Linked DNA regions of Homo sapiens: all the other regions are linked to region 1. Evidence: promoter capture Hi-C in 16 types of primary human blood cells and fetal thymus (Javierre and others, 2016). All regions are on one chromosome and are shown on one strand. Each heading gives the region's core, a stretch centred on a gene start or on the middle of the fragment in contact. The rest is flanking DNA. Distances are from core to core; before and after follow the strand shown.

Region 1 (2,700 bases), core at 135-2,634:
AACCATTAGGGGCTCCCACCTGTAATCCCAGCACTTTGGAAGACTGAGGCAGTTGGATCACCTGAGGTCAGGAGTTCGAGACCAGCCTGACCAACACGGAGAAACCCCATCTCTACTAAAAATACAAAATTAGCCGGGCATGGTGGCGGATGCTTGTAATCCCAGCTACTCGGGAGGCCGAGGCAGGAGAATCGCTTGAACCTGGGAGGGAGAGGTTGCAGTGAGCTGAGATCGTGCCATTGCACTTAAGCCTGGGCAACAAGAGTGAAACTCTGTCTCAAAAAAAAATTATAACTATTATCTATGATGCTATTTGATGAGTGAGGGAATAATTGTACTTTTTTCTTTTTTTTTCAAAATCACACTGATCCTGAAAAGGTGGATCTTTGATTTATCTTCCTAAAGCAGTGTATGTGAGAACCTTGTGTTGAGGAAGACTGATAACAGCTTGTATGTATTTAGCACGATGTGCCAGGCCTGGTGTTAAGTACTTTTTACCTCACTTCCCATATTCCTAATGAGGTTGGTTGTAGTGTTTTTCATCTTACTGATTTTTTTTTGTTTGTTTTTGTTTTGTTTTGTTTTTGGCTAATGACTTTAAAAGACCTCCAGTTCTTGAACTTCAGCTAGGGTCCCATCCCCAGAGTTTATCAGAAGGTATAGGTTGGGTCCAAGAATTCACAGGTTTTTTAAGTTCATAGTGAAGCTGATGCTGTAAAACTACATATCAAATTGGGAAGCAATGAATTAGAAGAGGCTCATGTTTTCGTCATGTTACATGTAAGTTCCTCCTTCACTTTTCGCCATGAATAAAAGTTCCCTGTGGCCTCACCAGAAGCAGATACGGGCACCATGCTTCCTGTACAGCCAGCAGAAAGGTAGCTAATTACATCTCTTTTCTTTATATGTTAGAAAAATTAGAAGGACATTCAATGTTTTACAAAAAGGCCCACAAACGAAATACAGACAACGTTCAATTTATTAATACGTTTCAATCCCCAAATCTGAGAGAGGTGAAGCAGGTTTCCCAGGGCCTCAGAAGCAGGATTGAAGAATGGGTCCCTTGCTGGCGACTTCAGTGGCGTGGCATTGTCCCAGGTGGCCATGGAAATCAGGGTGCATACCCTTTAAAAGCAGCTGTGGCCTCCGAGATATCGTTTTCCCAGTCTTTTCTCCCCCTCCCTGCACGACGCCTCTTGGCAGACATCCGGGAGAACCCGAAAGGCGCTCGTTGCCTGGTTGGATGCAGGGTACAAACTACGTTACCCAGAAATCTGTGCCCAGCTCATTGTTAGCCGGCGTGCAGCCAATGACAGCCCAGAAACTGGGCGTTTCCTGCTGCTCTGGGCTGCAGGGGCGAGACTTCTGGCGTCGCCGTCGTGACGTATTTTTCCTATGCCCGGTCCGTGCATTCTGGTTGTGAAGGCTGAGTTCTAGAGATCGGGTCGGCTTTCTACGCGGCTCTCGTGGAACCTAGCAAAGAAAGACAGTGAAGACTGCAGGACCTTCCTTCGCGCTTTTGTTACAATCCATGACCCCTGTCGTGGGACGGGCGGCCTCTCGCGGAGGTGTCTGCCGGGGCTGGGCTCTTACCGAGGCCTCCACACACGTCCTCTTGTCCTTGTCTCCCCCAGAAGCAGCCGCCTTAGTCTTGTGAGCGTTTTTACACCGGGTAGATTGAGACTTGGAGTGCTACACTCAGCCCGAGGGCGTCCAGCGCGGTGGAGGCGTGGGGTTTCGGCTGAGCCCACAGGGCACAGACTGTTCATCCGCTTCTCATGGCAGCGGCGGTGCTGATGGACCGGGTTCAGGTGAGTGGGGGCATCCCTCAAGCGCACCCCGGCCTGGTTGGTGTGTCCTGGGATGTTCGCTCTCATCGCGCACTTCAGGGTGCTCACTCCGTCGCATTATGTGGAGGGGTTCCGCTCCCCTCATCAGTGGCATAAGGTGTGGAACGGACTCGAAGGCGCAGGGGCAGTTCGTACAAATGCATGCATGGAGAGGAGAATGAGTTTGGGGAGTTCCGGGAACTCTCTGTGCCTGGTGAGAACAGGGACTAGGGGGTCAGAGGTAGGCCTGGAATGGCCGCCCGAGGAGCTGGTCCTCTCTTCTGAGGGTGCTGGGAGTCATGCAAGGTTTGGTACAGAGAAGGGAGGTCCTCTGACGCAGTTCTTAAAAGGCTCCCTCTGGCTGCAGAGTGGGTAGACTAGGGATTATAGGGTAGACGGGGAGATCAAGATGAAGTCTACTGAAATAGTCCAGGTGAGCGTTGATGGTCTGGGCCAGAGTGGTGGCAGCAGAGGTTAGAGAATGTATGGGTTTTGGGTTTTGTATGTATTTTATAAGGAAGGCTGACCAGATTCTCTGATGAGACATAGTGATGATATCCTGGGATTCTTCACATGACTGTCTTCACTTGAGACAGGGGGCAGTGAATGGAGGTCATTTCTAGTTTAGTGTCCTGAATCCAGGCCATGAGTTGTATGGAGTTATGTGGAGAAGTCCCCACCTGGCGACCAATGGGATGAGTACTGCAAAAGTATATCAGACCTAGGAACAGGTACGCTCAAATGCTTGTAGGATTGAGTTTGGAGCGCTCAGGGAATCTCAGGTCTTAATTACCTTTGTTGGAAACAGGTATCAGAGGAAGGAGTTAGGCAGGAATGGCTGGCCGAGGTGTCTTGAGTGTGGTAAAAGTCG
Region 2 (2,700 bases), core at 1-2,500, 570 kb after region 1:
AATGCACAGCCCTCGGCCTGCTTACTCTTCCAGGGAGAGCTCCACCTCACACTTTGTTCCAGACAGGTTCCATCCTCCCGGCTCCGTCCATCTCCAGGCCATTGCCTGCGCCCCTCCCTGTGCTTGTTGCTCTCCCCACCGCATCCCACGGGTGTCAGAAACAGGTGAAACCGTCTTTGCAAAATTATAACTGAGGAAATTATGACAGTGAAAGAAATCAGACCTTACTGACTCCGTCTTGCTTCCAACCTTTCAGCTGTCCTTGTTCATTCCTGGGTATAGGCTGAATTAACTTAGGGAAGGAATTCAGTTCATGGTTTCACTCTGAAACAAAATTGATAATAGCCCTTTCCTGAAAAGACCCCCTTCTTGCCTGGAGAACAGCCTGCCTTTGCAGGACTAACGAATTAGCTACAAGGTTAGAAATTACCGTTTAGGGGTCATGCAGCTTCTGACTCCAAGAGTCTGAACCTCCCCAAGTTGCTCCTGAAGATAAATCACTATTGTAAAACCTAAGATCAGTGCTTGAGGTATTTTGCAGATCCTGCACTGGATGGATCAGCTGACAACACACAGACCGGTAATCTGGGTCAATCAGTTCTGCCATCCCACCCAGAACAGAAAACAGCATGAAAAACTCACTTTAACCCTCTATGAATCCATCTCAGGTCCCAACCCTTACCGCCAAATTAATGTTGAAAACTCTGATCCCGGAATGCTAATGGAGACTGATTTGAGTAATAATAAAACTCCTGTCTCCAGAACAGCCTGACGGCTCTGCGTCAATTACTATTTCTCCATCGCAATTCTCCAGTCTTCATAAATCGGCTCTGTCTAGGCAGCTGGCAAGGTGAACCCACTGGACAGTTACACAGGGACCCCCACTGGACAGTTACACAGGGACCCCTCCTGCGAGCGCCTCAGTGTTCCTACGCCGGGTACCGGCTACAGACCCGTGAGCAGGAGCCGCTCCCTCGCTGGTTTAGGACCTGGGTGACGATGGGGTGACCTGAGGGCACAGAAGGCGCCACAATTACCTGAGTCGGGCGCCTCGGCGCAGCCGCTGCCATCGGACTACTTGGGGAAGCACGGCCCGGGAGCAGTGGTCGCCGTCACGGGGCTGCAGAGCCGCCTCTGGGCACCGAGGACGATTCCTCTCCACCTTCTAGGTTCAGTCACCGCGGTCCCCCCCCAGCACTCAGGGGCCACAAACTGGGGAAACACCCGCGTCACCGATACACAGCCGCTACTAGAGACCCCGGAAGTCTCAGCCTTACGTTACGTGCACACGTGGAAATGCCTTCTTTCCGAGTGCTCATTGGCTCTGACCGGCTGTCGTTTAACGCAGAGCTTTCTGGGTAATGTAGTTCCCCACTTTCCATGGCGCTAAAAAGAGCGATACCCAGAGTCCATCTGCAGGAAAAGCCCGCCATCAGGTCAGGGGTTCTCCTTAAAAAGCGCACCCTTCTGGCCGGGCGCAGTGGCTCAAGCCTGTAATCTCAGCACTTTGGAAGGCGGAGGTGGGCGGATCACGAGGTCAGGAGATGGAGACCATCCTGGCTAACACGGTGAAACCCCGTGTCTACTAAAAATTCAAAAAAAAAAAAAGTTAGCTGGGTGTGGTGGCGGGCGCCTACAGTCACAGCTACTCTGGAGGCTGAGGCTGGAGGAGAATGGCGTGAACCTGGGAGGCAGAGCTTGCAGTGAGCTGGGATCGCGCCACTGCCCTCCAGCCTGCGCGACAGAGCAAGACTCTGTCTCAAAAAAAAAAAAAAAAAAAAAAAAAAAAAAAAAAAAAAAGGCGCCTTTCTAGGGCAGAGGAGGGGTCTCACCTAGCCTTAGAAGCCGTATTGAGATTCCTGGAGACTAGTGTCTGTAACTAATCACTCAAGAATCTGGAAAAATACTGTTTCAGATTTCGGGGAGCGCAAGGTAAATAATAGGGAGCTCAAGCTAAAACTATTATTTAGGATTCTCCTAAAGGCTAAAAATCCAAATTACCACACCGTTTGAAACAGTCGTTCAGTCGCAAAATACCTGCACTGGAAGCAGAGGCTGATAAGCGTTGTTGTGTTATAATGTGTCTGAAGGCCCTCAGAAGCCTTAGAGTGCCTAAGGCAAATGAAGGAAGTTAGGGATGTGCTCCCCTATAGCAGGAGTGCAAAGCTGAATCTCTGTGATTCCTACAGAAAACAACTCTCCTGCTGATAGAATCTGTGAAAGGAAAATCTTGTGGCCTCAAAATTACTAAGCTAAAGGGAAAAGTCAATCTGGGAACTGCTCAGGGCAAACTTGCCTCCCATTCTATTCAAAGTCTTCCCTCTCCTCACTGAGATAGATGCCTATTCTGATTGCCTCCTTTGGAAGGACTTATCAGAAATTAAAAAGAATCCAACTATTTGTCTCTCTACCTGTCTACCTGTGACCTGGAAGTCCCCTCCCTGCTTCGAGTTGTTCCCGCCTTTCTGGTCGGAACCAATGTACTTCTTACATATATTCACTGATGTCTCATGTCCCCCTAAAATGTATAAAACCAACCTGTACCCCAACCACCATGGGCACATGTCGTCAGGACTTCCTGAGGCTGTGTCACGGGCATGTGTCCTCAACCTTGGCAAAATAAACTTTTTCTTTTATGAGACGGAGTCTCGCTCTTTGGTCAGGCTCGAGTGCAGTGGCGCGATCTCGGCTCACTGCAAC
Region 3 (2,700 bases), core at 64-2,563, 710 kb after region 1:
GACTATCAGACCGCTTGGGAAAAAGACTTCACCATGAGTTGTGTGTTCATACCTTTTGATCCAGTAAAAGGAAACGGTTGGGGGTGGGGGTGGGGGGCAAGAGTATACATTTTGTGAAAGAAAAAATACACAAAAAGATGTTTTGTGGCATTTGGGTTTGTGAGTTCGAGAACTGAAAAACGGCATTTTATGTATAATGGAAAGCCTCTTTACTGCTGTAGAGTGAAAAGCAGGCTGGCTTTCAGTGCGACGGTCACAAATGTGGGGCTTTACAGTACTTGGAATGTACAGGACGCCCTTAAAAGCCAAGAAGCTTGCCTTTGCTTTGTTTACATCAGTGCATTATGATTTTGAGCCATTATATCTCTTCATAATTGCCACTGTTTTAGGGCTTATGAAATTTAAAGTCTTAACTTGTGTGTTAACCAGCCAAATCTTTGCAAGTGTCTGTGTGTGGTACGAGAATTCGTATTGTGTTCTCTGCTGTTTTCAGAGTTGTTTCAGTCAAAGAAAAAAAAATGCCCGTCTTAAAACTTTTCCTCTGCTTCAAATACAGCTCCCAAGCCCAGGCTGATTGGAATTAATCTGTCCTCCCTTAAAAGGGCAAAAGCACAAGGCTCAGCCCTGGCTTTCCCAGCTCCTCTGGTCTCGCTGCTCCACGGACGTGTGACGTACGCTGGTGAAACGAAGCCCGCTTGAATGGGGGCTTCACTATTGTGTGCTGCTGAACCTAGGCCTAGCGCCTGGCAGGCTTTGGTGAATGTTCAGAAAATGACAATTCATTTCGTGTCAGCGAGGGCACACCAGCTTTGAATATTTTGCTGCTGTTCAAATGCACAATTTTGACAATTACCTAGCAATGTCCAAAGTCGTCATAATTGTTAGTGTCTTGCACGTGATGTTCCTTATAACCATGTAATAAATACAGTGTGAAGTCTCCATGGCTGCCTCAGTGTGGAAAATGCAAAGACTCCCGTGTGTGCGATCTTGGTGAATGTTTTGGTTGAAAGTATGTGTTTTGAAAAAATCATTGCTTTGTTTGCAGCAGTAAAACTGACGGTAGAGTTTCCAACACGAAAGCCCGTGTGGTCGCGCCGGGAGCTCACGGCGTTCCAAGCGGCACTTATCCCGCGTTGATGCCCAGGCACCCCGCGCGCCCTGTTTCACCAGGCCCAGTCACTCCAGCTCCAGCAGCACTGAGAGCTCACGAACGCCAAGGGCGAGAGCGAGGTGGGGGAGGGCGGCCGGAAATGCGCGCGCGGCTCTCTGGGAAATGGAGTTAGGCTCGCGCCGGCGCAGTGTCGGCTGCCGGTGCCGCGGCCTTTGTCTCGCAGTCAGGAGGGTGAGCTAGGCCGGCGAGGAGGGGGAGGGGAGGCCAGGCCGGGCCGGGCCGGGCCGGGTGCGGGGGGTCCGGGGATCTTCCTGAGGCCCTGGCGGGGCGAGTTTCCAGCAGCGCGCGTCTGTGTGGAGTCCGTTTTGCTGCCCGGGGCCTGGGGAAGGCCGTTTCGGGGCTGGCGGGGGCAGGCTTTGCGGGGCATCCCTAGTCTGAGAGGAGGGCGGGGCCCAACGCCCAGCTGGACAGGAGCTGCTCCGACGGCCCCTGAGGGAACGCGCGCCCCGCCCCTGGCCCCACCTCTGCCCCACACCGGGCACTGGGCCGCCACCTTTGTTGATGGAAGAGAGAAACTGAGGCATAGTGCCCAGGGCCAGGGGACCGCAACCACCCGGCCCTTGTCACTGTAGCGTTAAGGCTCAGAGTCTGCGCAGCAGATATGTGTCCGCACCCGCCAGGCCTTCAGCTTCCCTCAGACAGGCGGGAAAACCCTAGGCTGCCCTTCTCCGAGCGGAGGGCCGCCCCACACACAGCAGGCGCTTAAACGGGTACGCGGGGCCCTGGACGGCTCTCCGCGGAGCTCCCCAGGCTCTGGCGCAGTTCCCCGGCTTGGGGACCTGAGCACCGCCTCTGCCTGCCCCAGCTGCTCACCTCCCCTTTCCCACAGAGCAGGGCCAGCCGTTCCTGCCAGAAGCCAGGGCATGACCCCTGGGGTGCGCGTCTCCACAGACCCGGTGAGAATCTCGGCCTCCTTGCGCGTGTCCTCCACCTCGTGCCCGGCCTCCTCGCGCGCGGCCTTCTCACGCCCGGCCTCCTCTTTGCACCCCGTCCCTACTCGCGCTCAGCCTCCTCCTTGTGCCCGGCCCCTACTTGCGTGCCCGGCCCCTACTCGTGCCCGGCCTCTACTCGCACAACTGGCCTCTACTCGCGCACCTGGCCTCTACTGGTGCCCGGCCTCTACTCGTGCCCGGCCTCTATTTGCACATCTAGCCTCTACTCGTGTCCGGCCTCTACCTGCACACCCGGCCTCCTAAAGTCCGCGCCAAGCTCCCCAACCACAGCCTGCCTCTGAAAGGACCGCCCACGCCGCGCTGGAGGTCAGCGGGCACGGGTCCCTGTCTGAGTGGGCTTTATGTTTGTGCGGCCGTCATTGCATACCTGAGGCTGGGTGATGTCAGAAAATTGTAGGTGCCCCGGCTCTGCAGTCTGAAGTTGAAGGCCTTAGCATGCTCTGCGCTCCAAGATGGCGCATCGAGTGCCGCTTCCTCAGACGTCATGGAGGCCAAGGGGGCGGAACTCGCCTTTTTATGATGACATTAACCCCACCCATAAGCCACCAGAAGAAACCAGCCTCCTGTAGGAATGTC

Evidence for each region. The method cuts DNA at HindIII sites, captures the fragments that hold promoters and counts their contacts. A CHiCAGO score of 5 or more calls a contact.
Region 2: the fragment with the promoter of ZNF417 here is called in contact with the fragment with the promoter of ZNF304 in region 1 in 4 of 17 cell types (non-activated CD4 T cells, total CD8 T cells, total CD4 T cells and 1 more); the score reaches 6.7 in non-activated CD4 T cells.
Region 3: a contact is called between the fragment with the promoter of ZNF135 here and the fragment with the promoter of ZNF304 in region 1, in 3 of 17 cell types (naive CD4 T cells, total CD4 T cells and non-activated CD4 T cells). The highest score is 8.6, in naive CD4 T cells.

Annotation. Positions count from the first base shown.
Region 1 is chr19:57,349,887-57,352,586 of GRCh38, forward strand. It overlaps ZNF304 (zinc finger protein 304), which reads left to right and starts at 1,385. Exons shown (of 3, transcript NM_020657.4): 1 at 1,385-1,811. The coding sequence starts at 1,779. RefSeq lists enhancers at 561-1,420, 1,378-1,467, 1,421-2,279, 1,618-1,687. The HindIII fragment of the contact is 5,195 bases long and covers 1-2,700 here.
Region 2 is chr19:57,915,342-57,918,041 of GRCh38, forward strand. It overlaps ZNF417 (zinc finger protein 417), which reads right to left and starts at 1,251. Exons shown (of 3, transcript NM_152475.3): 1 at 1,038-1,251. The coding sequence starts at 1,070. RefSeq lists enhancers at 1,008-1,297, 1,316-2,171, 1,568-1,627. The HindIII fragment of the contact is 13,199 bases long and covers 1-2,700 here.
Region 3 is chr19:58,057,969-58,060,668 of GRCh38, forward strand. ZNF135 (zinc finger protein 135) reads left to right here and starts at 1,314. Exons shown (of 5, transcript NM_001289401.2): 1 at 1,314-1,342; 2 at 2,001-2,067. The coding sequence starts at 2,035. The HindIII fragment of the contact is 3,956 bases long and covers 312-2,700 here.